Linked DNA regions of Homo sapiens: regions 1 and 3 are each linked to region 2. The links are contacts of gene promoters, found by promoter capture Hi-C in human tissues and cell types (Jung and others, 2019). All regions are on one chromosome and are shown on one strand. The core of a region is centred on a gene start or on the middle of the fragment in contact, and the rest is flanking DNA. Distances in the headings are between cores, read along the strand shown.

The links. The method cuts DNA at HindIII sites, captures the fragments that hold promoters and counts their contacts. A contact is called where the count stands out against the background at its distance.
Region 1: a fragment that was not itself captured here is called in contact with the fragment with the promoter of TRIM41 in region 2 in 2 of the 25 tissues and cell types used here (dorsolateral prefrontal cortex and lymphoblastoid cells).
Region 3: a fragment that was not itself captured here is called in contact with the fragment with the promoter of TRIM41 in region 2 in 1 of the 25 tissues and cell types used here (lymphoblastoid cells).

The regions. Positions count from the first base shown.
Region 1 is chr5:180,838,445-180,843,108 of GRCh38, forward strand. It overlaps a transcript of ZFP62 not described here. Among named protein-coding and RNA genes, the nearest start is that of HEIH, 9.2 kb to the left of the region's middle. The HindIII fragment of the contact is 7,340 bases long and covers 1-4,664 here.
Region 2 is chr5:181,221,552-181,225,589 of GRCh38, forward strand. TRIM41 (tripartite motif containing 41) reads left to right here and starts at 1,730. Exons shown (of 6, transcript NM_033549.5): 1 at 1,730-3,261. The coding sequence starts at 2,449. It overlaps TRK-CTT2-3 (tRNA-Lys (anticodon CTT) 2-3), which reads right to left and starts at 500; the gene lies at 428-500. TRV-CAC1-5 (tRNA-Val (anticodon CAC) 1-5) reads right to left here and starts at 916; the gene lies at 844-916. MIR4638 (microRNA 4638) reads right to left here and starts at 1,082; the gene lies at 1,015-1,082. RefSeq lists silencers at 309-518, 769-998, 2,269-2,478 and enhancers at 1,729-1,958, 2,626-3,623. The HindIII fragment of the contact is 24,392 bases long and covers 1-4,038 here.
Region 3 is chr5:180,747,041-180,751,707 of GRCh38, forward strand. No RefSeq gene overlaps it. Among named protein-coding and RNA genes, the nearest start is that of OR2Y1, 9.3 kb to the left of the region's middle. The HindIII fragment of the contact is 4,608 bases long and covers 416-4,667 here.

The DNA of each region.
Region 1 (4,664 bases), core at 639-3,138, 380 kb before region 2:
TAAACTGAAATCTTTGCTCTAAAGGACATTAGGACAATGAAAGAAACTTGCACGGGGTCTGAGCATTAGGTAGTAGTAATGAATTGATGTTGAGTCCCTAATTTTCATGGTTGTATGCTGATGATGTAGGAGGTTCTTGTAGGAAATACACACTCAAAAGTATTCTGAGGTGATGGGGCATCATATCAGAAGCTTATTCTCAAATGGTTCAGGAAGGAAAAAGTTTTATACTATACTTCTTTGGCAAGTTTAGATTGTTTCAAAATAAAATTTTTTTAAAAAGAGCATTTGTTAACCATCAGTTTGGTAAAAGGTGAAAAATGTTGATAATACCTAGTGTTTGTGAAGGTGTGGAGAAACAAAGTTTCATACACTATTGTCAAAAGTATAAATTGTTACAATATTTTTGGAGAGCAATTTTCCAGTATGTAGCAAAAATTTAAAAGCAAATCTTAACTCAGCAATTCTGCCTTTAGAAATGTATTTGTAGGATAACATACAGGAGAGAAAAATGTATTTTACTGCAACACTGTTGATACTAACAAAAACTGGAAACCACCAAAACATTTATCATGAGGGGGTTAAGTAAAGTATGGTATAACTATACAATGAGTGTACTAGGAAACCCTTAGAAAGAATGCAGAAAGATGTATGTGGACTTTTACAGAAAGGTGAGCTACTGTCTAAATGCAAATGTGCCAATATCATGTATATACAGTCAGGTTCCTTTTGTTAAAAACCAAAAGCGTATGTTTAGAAGCAAAAGCACTCATATAAAGGCCTGGTATAGAGCAGTGGCTAAAAACAGTGCCAAGATACTGCCTCAACTTCCTCTCACATGCTGCCCTGGTGATACTGAGGCTGGTTCAGGAACCATGACAGCCTGTTTGTATGAATTCCTTAAAGCACAAATTACTTAGTTTCTTTCATAACAGTCACCTAATCCCTTAGTTTAAAATGGTTGTGTTCATGGAATACTATGCAGCCATAAAAAAGGAGATCACATCCTTTGCAGCAACATGAGTGGAGCTGGAGGCCATTATCCTAAGAGAACTAATGCTGCAACGGAAAAACCAAATACCGCATGTTTTCACTTACAAGTGGGAGCTAAACAATGAGAACACATGGATACAAAGAGGGGAAAAACAGACACTGAGGCCTACTTGAGGGTGAAGGGCAGGAGGAGGAAGAGTATCAGAAAAAATTCCTATTGGGTACTATGCTTATTACCTGGGTGATGAAACAATTTGAACACCAAATCCCTGTGACACAGTTTACCTACATAACAAACCTGCACATGTACTCCTGAACCTAAAAGTTACAATAAATAAAAAATAAAATGGTTGTGTCCTGACAGGAAATAAGTGTTCCAGATCTGCTTGCCTCCTACCCCCTTAAGAACTCCCAGCGCCAAGGACAGCTTCACAGTGATGTGCTGAATTTGTTTTTTCTCTGCCCCACCCACCATTTTGCTTCTGGTAAGATTTTGAATCCCTGGTTAATTAATGAAGAACTAACCTTACAATGGGTATATGCTTGTGGTCCCTTTCCACCAGCCCCCAGCCCACCTAACATACTAGTTGTGGGACTGCCTAAAGAAAGAATGTCAGGAAGGCCAGAGAGGCGAGCTGAGGATCCCCAGGTGGAGGCCTCCACAGTAAGTGCCACAAGGCCATTGCATCATGAGGGCGTGTTCCATGAAGATGTTCTAGCCATGGTGTTTGTCCACTGTCCCATGTGCCTGACTGCTTGGGCACAGTGGACAGTGGTCTTAGCCAAGGCCTAGTTATGTTCAGGGGCAGATCCCTGGCTTCTCCTAAATGCACTGGCCGTGAAAAGGGGCAGTCAGCTTCAGAGGGAGTTGAGGAGCTGGGGATGGGGAAGGCTTTGAAGATGCCCCTCAAAGCCCCACTGGATGTCAATCAGCCAGTTTCCAGACAAGATAAACTAGATAACTTGCAGGATTCTAGGTGTGGGTAGAGATGAGAATCAAACTGGGAAACGTAACTCTTCCCATAGAAGCAGCTAAAATGGCTGGGCATGGTGGCTCAGGCCTGTAATCCCAGCACTTTGGGAGGCTGAGGCAGGTGGATCATAAGGTCAGGAGTTCGAGACAAGCCTGGCCAACACAGTGAAACCCCATCTCTACTAAAAATACAAAAATGAGCCGGGCATGTGGTGGGCGCCTGTAATCCCAGCTACTCAGGAGGCTAAGGCAGGAGAATCGCTTGAACCCTGGAGGTGGAGGTTGCAGTGAGCCAAGATCCCGCCACTGCACTCTATCTAGCCTGGGCGACAGAGCGAGAATCTGCCTCAAAAAAAAAATAGAAGTAGCTAAAACAATTTGTGTGTGTGTGTGTGTGTGTGTGTGTGTGTGTTGGGGTTGGGGAGGAAGGTGTTAAGATCACAGGAATAAATAAAAATGTTAGCATAGTATTGCTATCACAGTATTTCTGTTGTTACATGCTTGAGTCAATCTTTGTTTTTAGAGGAAAAAAGCGTCCAGAAAAAGAAGGACGCTGGAACCTAGGAACTCCATGATTTGTGCTGAGGTTTTTTTGTTTTTTGTTGCAATGGTGTATTCTGAGGACAGGGTCTAAGAAATAACTTCTTAGTTATTCAAATGACTTCTGAATGAAACATTAAAAATACTGAATTGAAATGACCCCAAAACGTCTTAACTATTAGCAAATAGCTAACCTCTTGTATCCCAGATATTGTTTTGTGGAAAGAAAATGAACTTGCTGGATAAGAGACCAACTGAAACAAAATGGAAAGCATGGCAGTGTGCTATATCCATATATATATACACACACACACACACATATATATATACATACATATATATACATACACATATATATATACATACACACATATATATATATATATATACTTTTTACTAAGGCTAGGAACTTGAGGCGAGGATTTTTTCTTTCCCAGTTTGGATTCCCTTTAGAATTTTGGGTTCAGACAACAACTTTTACAGTTCTTGAACCAAGTTCCCTTTTACTGAAAGTTAACAAAATACAAAGAGGGGCTGTGGGCTGTGGGCTGTGAAAGGATTCTGTAGAAAATTGTAAGGCCCAGATTAAGAGCATGCAGACAGCAGTCTATCAGTCAGATTCTAACCTGAAAATCAGAAACCACTCAAGTGTTCAGATGGAAGAAATCTAATGCAGAGAATAGGTGACACACTCAGAGTCAACATCAGAGAAAGCACTGCCACAGATGCTATCAGACACAGCTTTTAAACTAAAAATGCTACTATGTTCAAGGAAAATAAAGCTACATTTGAGAATCTGGCATACTATGAAAAAGGAAGAAGGTCCAGTGCTGTGGCTCATGCCTGTAATCCTAGAGCTTTGGGAAGCTGGGGTGGGCAGATCACTTGAGGTCAGGAGTTTGAGACCAGCCTGGCAACACAGCACAACCCCTCTCTACTAAAAATACAAAAATTAGCCAGGCATGGTGGTGCACACCTGTAATCCCAGTTACATGGGAGGCGTAAGAATTGCTTGAACCTGGAAGGCAGAGGTTGCTGTGAGCCCAGATTTTGCCACTGTACTCCAACCTTGGGCGACAGAGTGATACTCCGTCTCCAGAAAAAAGGAAGCAAATGAAAAGTCTATTACTGAGAAACAGAAAAACTTAAATTGAGCACTCAATGGGTATATTTAAGCCAGATTACATAGCTAAAGAGAAACTTAGTGAACTGGAAGGTAAATTAGATCCAGAATGAAGCCTGGGTAAGGAGTAGGGGACAAAAGGATGGAAACGAGCACTTAAGAGGCACAGGAGATACAGTGAGAAGGCTTTATTTGGAGTCCTAGAAGGAAATGAAAAAAGAATGGTATAGAGCTAATATCTGAGCACACAATGGCTGAGAATTTACCAAAACTCATGAAAGATAAATACACAAATTTAAAAGCCCAGAGTATACAAAAAAGGATCACTTATAAAAAATCCACACCAAAATAAAACACAGTGAAACTGGAATAAACCGAAGATTAAAAAAATCTTAAAAGAAGCTATTTTAAAAAGAATACATTAAACTGGCAGATGAACAGCCAGAGTGGAAATCACACTTCAGTGGCTTAATGCATCCAATGTGACAAAAGAACATGAGGTCTAACCTAGAATTCTATTCCCACAAAAAACCATTTTTAAGAATGAAGTTATTTTTAGGCAAATAAAAATTGTGAAGTTTTACCTCTAACAGGACAGAGTATTCTAAAGAAAGTTTTCTAGAGAGAAGGAAAATGTCCCCAAATAAAAAATTGCAGAGGTGGAGAAGAATGAAAGGAAATGAAAAGGTTGGGCATGGTGGCTCATGCCTGTAATCCTAGCAATTTGGGAGGCCAAGGCAGGTGGATCACCTGAGGTCAGGAGTTCAAGACCAGCCTGGCCAACACAGTGAAACCCCCGTCTCTACTAAAAATACAACAATTAGCCGGGCATGGTGGTGTGTGCCTATAGTCCCAGCTACTGGGGAGGCTGAGGTAGGAGAATTGCTTGAATCTGGGAGGTAGCCATTGCAGTGAGCCGAGATTTTGCCACTGCACTCCAGCCTGGGTGACAAAGCAAGACTGTCTCCAAAAAAAAAAAATAAATAAATAAATTTAAAAAAAAAGAAAAGTAATTAAACGTTTGGTATAGAAAAT
Region 2 (4,038 bases), core at 480-2,979:
ACGCCTGGGGTCGTCCTGCGGTCTCACCCCAGTTTCGATAAACCACATTGTTCCCTCCAGCACAGCAAGTCTCACAGCAAGACGGGGGCAGGCCGTCTGGTAAACATAAAATGCCTAATATGTGCTGCCCGTGGGCGAGTGGCCTACAGCAAAGGGTCATGCATGCACGATAGCCCGCGGTGCTGGCCTGCAGGAATTGGTCCACAGGTACCCGCCTCTCATTCTTTCTTTGAGAGTTAGCGAGGGTGCAAACGTTGTGAGAATTCTGCTCGGGGCCTTCCACACACGGATCGGAGAACACCAGGTTAGTCCAAGTTCTAACACCCACTGTTGGTGAATCTGCTACCCACTAGGTCTTGGTACAGAGAATACCATTTGTGCACTTAGGTAACACAACTTGCCTTAACCTTTCCAAAAAGCGAAATTACGCCCAACGTGGGGCTCGAACCCACGACCCTGAGATTAAGAGTCTCATGCTCTACCGACTGAGCTAGCCGGGCGGCCATGTCTGTATTCTAACTTTGTCTCTGAAGATGGAGGTTACCCTCAGAGGTGTAAGCACGTTTCCACTGTGCAAATACTAAGAAGCGCCTGCGCCTGGCTCTGTTCTAGGCACTAGAGCCGAGGATCTGAAATCTACGGATTCCTGTACATGTGATGGCTGCATAGGCTTCAGAAGGGAAGAGCAAGAGATTAGGTGAGGGGCGAGACCTGAATTTACTTGAGTAGTGCTCTCCTTCAGTTTTGCCCCAGTCCGTGTTCCTCCGAAGCGCAGGGACACACATGTCCTTCCTGCCACGTAAGGCCGGCCTCGGGAGAGAATCTCCCGAACAGACCAAAACGTGTTTCCGCCCGGTTTCGAACCGGGGACCTTTCGCGTGTGAGGCGAACGTGATAACCACTACACTACGGAAACCACCTTGGCTACTTTCCTGCCGGCATCGTCCTGAAGACACACACGGCTGAGACGGCCGGGATAGCTCTAGGCAAGCGCCCTTGTAGGACAGGCCCGGGGACCCCTGCCGCGGCCGGCTGAGCGGTGTCCAGGTTCTGGAGCCGGACTTGTCCACCGCAGCCGAGTCCGCAGGTCCTGTAATGGCCTAGCATAGTTCACCCACGAGGGTTCGTGGTTTTTGGCGCGTTTGATCTGACATACTCAGAGGCCTGACCACCCCCCTAGGAAGCGCGACGTCCATCTGGAGTTTTCCCGCGAGCCGCCTTGAGAGCAGGGTAAGTTCTGCAGGCCCAGCCCTGGCGTCACGCTGTGTCTGGCACTCACTGGAGATTCTGTACATAAATCATGGCCCCGTCATTTTTCTCGCATCAAACAACATTTATTTATTTATGTATCGACATCAAATCTCTATAAAAATAAAATTTAAAGAGCTATTTAAGCATCAAGTATTATTTCTACCGCACAAAGCATCTATTTTTGCAGAGATGCTGTGAGAATGTAGATGTAATGATTCGTCACCACTTCTTCACTGCTGGGCAGTTAGGGAAGTTCATCTAAACCATGAGACAGTGTCCGGTTGGCAGTTTCTACCTCGGATGCGAAACGCCGACTACAGTTGGGGAAGGGTGGGGCGTCTGCTGCCCTAACCCGCGAAGCGCTTTCTCAGGCCCCGCCCCCGGTCCGACCCGGACGACCCTCTGAGTCCTCCACAACGAAGTCGTCTGCCTAGAAGGGCCGGAAGTACTTCAGGGCGCGCCGCGGACCCACCCCCTCGCTTCCGGCATCGGCTGTGGGGAGTACCGGCTGCAGTCGGCTGTGCCGGGAGGGTAGGATGGCGTCTGGCCGATGCGGTGATAGCACCGAAAGCAGACGGCCGCCAGGCGCTCCCCCTACCCCCCGAAGTTTCTCCCCAGCGGCGGGGGATGGGGGTAGGCGGTTCCTCTGTTCTTTCTGCGTTCCCCGCGGCCTCTTACCACAGAGACGCGGGCCTCCACCGTCCTAGCCCTCCCGCCCTGTTCTCTAGTGCGGACTAGAGCGTCTCCTCGCCATTTCCTGTCGCCCTGGGGCCCCGCGGGGAAAAAGGGGGAGTAGCAGGACAGCGGAGGGAAGTCGCGAGCTTAGGTGGTGTGTAGACGCCGGAAGTGTTGGGAAGGAGGCCGGAAGCTAGGGGCGGGGCCAGGAAGTGAGGAGGGGCGGGGGTTTATGAGGAGTCCAAGGGAGCATTGGGGCAGACTTGTACTCAGAGCCACCTGAGGGACTTGGCGGTGGCGCCCAGCACTGTCCCCTCCCCTCGTAGAGACACGGTTGTCGTTTGGGAGTAGGGAACACTGTGTTGGGGTGGGTTGTCGGCAGGACATCTCTCTGGCTGCTCTTGGGGCGAGGTGTGGAGGGGCAGGGCTGGGGGTGGAGCCGGGTCGCCAGGGCGTCGGTAGGGAAGACCCCCGCCCCTCGCCCCCCCACCGAACCTCTACACTGGCTGGCTGGACACTAAGATGGCTGCCGTTGCCATGACACCCAACCCTGTGCAGACCCTTCAGGAGGAGGCGGTGTGCGCCATCTGCCTCGATTACTTCACGGACCCCGTGTCCATCGGCTGCGGGCACAACTTCTGCCGAGTTTGTGTAACCCAGTTGTGGGGTGGGGAGGATGAGGAGGACAGAGATGAGTTAGATCGGGAGGAGGAGGAGGAGGACGGAGAGGAGGAGGAAGTGGAGGCTGTGGGGGCTGGCGCGGGGTGGGACACCCCCATGCGGGATGAAGACTACGAGGGTGACATGGAGGAGGAGGTCGAGGAGGAAGAAGAGGGTGTGTTCTGGACCAGTGGCATGAGCAGGTCCAGCTGGGACAACATGGACTATGTGTGGGAGGAGGAGGACGAGGAGGAAGACCTGGACTACTACTTGGGGGACATGGAGGAGGAGGACCTGAGGGGGGAGGATGAGGAGGACGAGGAGGAAGTGCTGGAGGAGGTTGAGGAAGAGGATCTAGACCCCGTCACCCCACTGCCCCCGCCTCCAGCCCCTCGGAGGTGCTTCACATGCCCTCAGTGCCGAAAGAGCTTTCCTCGGCGGAGCTTCCGCCCCAACCTGCAGCTGGCCAATATGGTCCAGGTGATTCGGCAGATGCACCCAACCCCTGGTCGAGGGAGCCGCGTGACCGATCAGGGCATCTGTCCCAAACACCAAGAAGCCCTGAAGCTCTTCTGCGAGGTAGACGAAGAGGCCATCTGTGTGGTGTGCCGAGAATCCAGGAGCCACAAACAGCACAGCGTGGTGCCATTGGAGGAGGTGGTGCAGGAGTACAAGGTGAGAGAAGTACAGAGAGAAGATGGGAGTTTAGTGGGGGGATGGAGAGGAAGTAAGGGGACCTGGGAAAAGGAAACATCTCTTCACCCACCAAAGAACCTCATGGTATTGGTGAGCCAAGTTTGCTTATCTAAGCACTTACTGCCACCAAGGTGGATTAGAATGAGAAGGATTCTGTACACAGAGCAGATGCAGTGAAGACGACCAGGGAAGGATGGCTTCCTCAAAGCAAATAGAGCAAAGCCGGTGATGCCAGATCAGGTCTCTAGGGCTTTACCAGAAGTCTCGTTTTCTTTCGGGTGAGTCTTAAGTCTGTCCTTGACGGAGACACCTAGAGATGGAAAGAACTGGGGGCTTCAAAGGACAAGAAAAGGCTCAGAAGCAGGAACACAGAGATAACTGCTAGTGTCAGTGTCAGACCCAAATGCTCTGCACTTGCCTCCCAGTGGGTTCCCCACCTACCACGATATGGCTTGGTTCTGTCTTCAAGGACTTTGGTTGGCTCTGTGTCATTCTTATGCACTGACTAGAAAGCAGGAGCTTTTCAGTCAGAAGACCTGGCTCTGCAAGTTGCATTGTCAAATCTTGATTAAGTCTGTGAGTGTCTTTGGACTTTAATTTGTCCAGGATTGATAGTTAATATTCACTGGACATTTATATGTATACCAGGCACTGTACTAGGCACTTTTCATGGACTGTCTCGTTAAAACCCAGACAACACTGAGTTTGATATGTTTTCCATTCCCATTTTATAGATTGGGAAACAAAGTCAGAGAG
Region 3 (4,667 bases), core at 1,470-3,969, 470 kb before region 2:
CCCCTATTCTTATCCCTTTGGCACACATAAAGCATTCCTGCATTTCATGTGCATATTTGATATTGTTAAATTTCTGCATTACAAAGACCAATGGTTGTGCTCATCTCTCTGGGTTTTGTTTTTTTGCATTTTTTTTTGAGACGGGGGTCTCACTCCATCATCCAGGCTGGACTGCAGTGGCACTAGTGATCCTCCCCACCAAGCCTCCTGAGTAAGCTGGGTCTACAGGCATACACCACCAGGCCTGGGTAATTTTTTGTATTTTTTGTAGAGACTGGGTCTCCCTATGTTGCCCAAACTGGTCTTGAACTCCTGGGGTCAAGCAATCCTGCTGCCTCAGCCTCCCAAAGCAATGGGATTATAGGCATGAACCACTATGCCTGGTCCGTGCTCATCTCTGCGTGTCTGTGTCTGTGTGTACATCTGTGTGTCTATGCATGACCTCTAAAAATAACACACTTATTGAAATCAGAAATCATGTTTAAATTATTTTCAACAGCACGTAGTACTATATTCTTCATATTCTTCATGCCAGTCTACTAATTTAATGATATTTTCTGACTGTAATAGAGCCACATTCAAGCCAGAAAATTTCATCCTCTGTCTGAGTGAAGGAGGAGGTTCTACAAACTCCTTCCGAAACACCTTCATTGGTAGAACATTCATCCTTAAATTTGAATCTTATTTCACCCTTTTATTACACCTGCATGAGTAGCTCTCTTATTAGTTTTTGGAAGATTAAACCCACTATCAAAACTTACTAGGCACCAAAACATCCTTCCTTCCACTCATCCTCCATCACATCCTCCTCTTCTGCAGACACACCTGACCCTGTTCCTCTCACCTGAGGAATCACACAATATCTCATCATACCCCATGAGACTTTAGGGTGATCTTTAAGACGCTTCTATAAAATACTTAATAATAACCCACATTTCGCAGTATAAGACCAGAAAACTCCGGTTTGAGTTCAGTAAGCTTAATTAACAAAGACTGAATTAACAAGTAGCTTGTTTTAACTCTGATTCCCACACAGAACATTGTCTCCAAATAGGATAGATTCCCTTCTGTCATCTAGTTCTTCAAGAAGTCTTCCGGGATTTATCTTCAACAGCTCTGACCATTGCTCTATTCTTTGTCTCTTGGCACTGAGGCCTATAATTTACTTTGCATACTAGAGCCCTGGCATCATGGAATTTGAGATTTAGAAGAAACTTCAAAATGATTTTAAGCTTCACACTTTACATAAATAAACTTATTTCCCTAAGTTTATGCAGTTGGAGAGAAAAAAAAGAAATTGTTTGACATGCTGTATTCAGTTGAGTGAATGGATGGGTGAGTAAGTGGCAGAGAAAGACTCTATCAGTGATAAAATATGTTCTTGCATGAATTTAATAGCTCTATGTACTCAAACTGGGGATGCTACACAAAGGAATCCCCCACTAATTGCCCAATGAAATATTTCTATGCATGACTTCTAAAAATAACACACTTATTGAAATCAGAAATCATGTTTAAATTATTTTCAACAGCATGTAGTACTATATTCTTCATATTCTTCATGCCAGTCTACTAATTTAATGATATTGTCTGACTATAATAGAGCCACATTCAAGCCAGAAAATTTCATCCTCTGTCTGAGTGAAGGAGGAGGTTCTGGATTTTTAACTATGAAGTCAGAGTGGCCCATCCAGTCAGTACTTACCCAGGGCTCCTGTCCTGGAGAAGCGATGGTTACATAGGCTCCCTCCCTGGGCAGGGCAAAACTGCCCAAGGCCCATTGCCCGCCAGGCAGGAGCCTCCTCCCCCAGGCACCTTCGCTCACTCACCCTAACCAACTCAGCCGTGGAGGAACTGGTGTCTTACCAAACCACCTCCTGACCCTTAGGCTCAGCAGCAATCCTGCCTCAGGAGCATTGCCAAGGCCTCCTTAAGAGGAGTCAGGGGAAAATTGTTTACCAAGTATGACCTTGGAGACCTCCGGGCCCCAATGTGGCAATCAAAATCAACTGACTGAAAAACCAAGATTTGCCTTGAGTCCTCAATTCTCTCTATTCCCCATGCTCTGCCTAAATCAAATGAATCTATTCAGTGTCCTCAGAACCCAACTCTTCCCTTGGTGCATATGACTCTGCATCCTGGGATTCTGCACACTTCTGCTTTCACCCAAATCCTACCAGTCCTTCACCACTCAGACTAAATGACTCATCTCTCTTGGAGCTTACCATATTCACCACCTCAAATCTCTCCCTTCCCTGAGCTCCTCATATAATGCCCATATATCCCCATTATGTGTCTCATTGACTCAATTCAGTATTAATTTCCTTGAAGACAAGTTTGATGCTTTACATTGCTTTCAAACATAGTATACTTCATGTATTAACATTTATTTCTTTATACTCTGTTTTTTATTCACAATAAATTTAAAAGGAAAATGCATTTATTTATCAATTCATTCAAAAATTATCTACTGAGCAATGAGTGCTGTTCTACATACCACAGGAAATAAAACAAGAAACATTTAAGATGATTTGTATCCACTTAAGGGGTCATAATATAATATAGAAGAAATAGCTGTGCCATTACTAGCTTTGTGACCTTGAAGAGCTTTCTTGATATGCTTGCACCTTAGTTTCCCTTCAGTAAGATGATATTATTATGGCTTATCCTGTGGTTCTCTTTTGCAGATTAATGACACAGTGTATATAAAGTGCTTGGCATATGGTAGACATTCACTCAATGCTAGTTAGTGTTACTGGAACACAAACATAGGTGCATATGTGTGGTTATACAAGCATAAAGAAAAGGATGGAAAGGTTCACCTCAAACTGATTATGGTAATGCTGCTTATTGGTTGAGGGGTGTTGAATATGGGAAGGAGGTGGGAAGACTGATAACTTTTTCTTCATACAACAACAGGGTTTCATTTGTTGTAATTAGCATATATTTATTTTAAGAGATTTATTGAGGTATAATTCACATATCATACAATTCACACACTTAATATGTACAACTCAATAGCTTTTAATATATTCATAGATTTGTGCATCCATTATTTTAGAATATTTCCATTACCCCCCAAAATAATTCATGCCAGTTTGCAATCACTCCTCATTCTCACCCTCAACTCCAGGCAAGCAGAAATATATTTTTTGTCTTGATAGACTTGCCTTTCTAGACATTTCATATACGGACTCTTACAACATGTGGTCTTTTGTGTCCAGCTGGTTTCCCTTAATAATGAAGCTTCATCAATGTAGTAGCATGGATCATTTATCATCCTTTTTTATGGCTAATGTTCCTTTGTGTGAATATGCCACATTTTCTCATCCATTCATCTGTTGATGATCATTTGGTTTGTTTACACCTTTTGCCTATTTCATATGAATAATGCTGTTATGAAATATTTGTGTATGAGTTTTGTGTGCACATATTGATTGCTGTAATTCCAAGGAAAATAAAATAAAATATTTTAATAAAAACAAAGAGGCTAACCATACACTTCTAAAACCTAAAAAAGATTACCATCTTCTACAGATGATGTCACTGCTCTGTAAAGCTGAAGAAGAACCAGGAAAGAGAAATAATCTGACTAGGTATACAGAGCTCACAAATTGGTTGCCACCTGTTAAGGTATTTGGGCAACATAGTGGTTGATTTTTTACAAAAATTTTGCTGATAGGTTAACATCAGTAGGATTCACATGAAAATCTAAATTTTTATCTTTTCGGAAAGTTCAAAATATATGTCAACATTCTTTCAAATAAAATCAGTGGTGGGATGAGGGCAGGCGTGGCGGCTCATGCCTGTAATCCTAGCACTTTGGGAGGCTGAGATGCAAGGATGGCTTGAGCCCAGGAGGTCAAGACCAGACTAGGCAACATAGGGAGACTCTGTCTCAAATAAAAAATTAGCCAGGGGTGGTGGCACATGCCTCTGGTCCCAGCTACTTGAGAGACTGAGGTGGTAGGATCACTTGAGCCTGGAAGGTTGTGGCTGCAATAAGCCATCATTGCATCACAGCACTCAAGCCTGGGTGACACAGCAAGACCTTGTCTTGAAAAAATAAGTAAATAAATAAATCAGTGGGAACTGAGCAGTAGACCCTCCCCTAGAAGGAACATGCATTTTTTTCACCAAGCCAGCCCCTATTTGCACATTACGCCCCTGTCCTGTAGGCATTGGGATGTGCGTCCCTGGGTTCTTCAGAAGAGGGCAGGGGGGAAAGGTTGGACAATCCAGGATAGGATATTTGATTTGGAAGCAACTTTTGAAGTCCTTTCCTGATTCACAGAACTTCTCTGCACCAGCACCCAAGCATGGCCACTCAGCTCCTGTTGAAAGCCTTGGGGAAAGGGAGATCACTGTCCCCTGGTCAACTTCCTCACCTTTGTACATTCTTCCTTACACTTAGCCAAATTCAGTCTCTCACAGGCTTCAATGTGTCCATGTTTATTCTTACCTTTGGAATCACAAGTAAAGTTAAATTCCATCTTCCACATAGTAGCCCTTCAAATCTCTCTCTCTCTTTTTTTTTTTTTTTTTTTGAGATGGAGTCTTGCTCTGTTGCCCAGGCTGGAGTGCATTGGTGCAATCTTGGCTCACTGCAACCTCTGCCTCCCGGGTTCCCGCCATTCTCCTGCCTCAGCCTCAACTACTGAGATCAA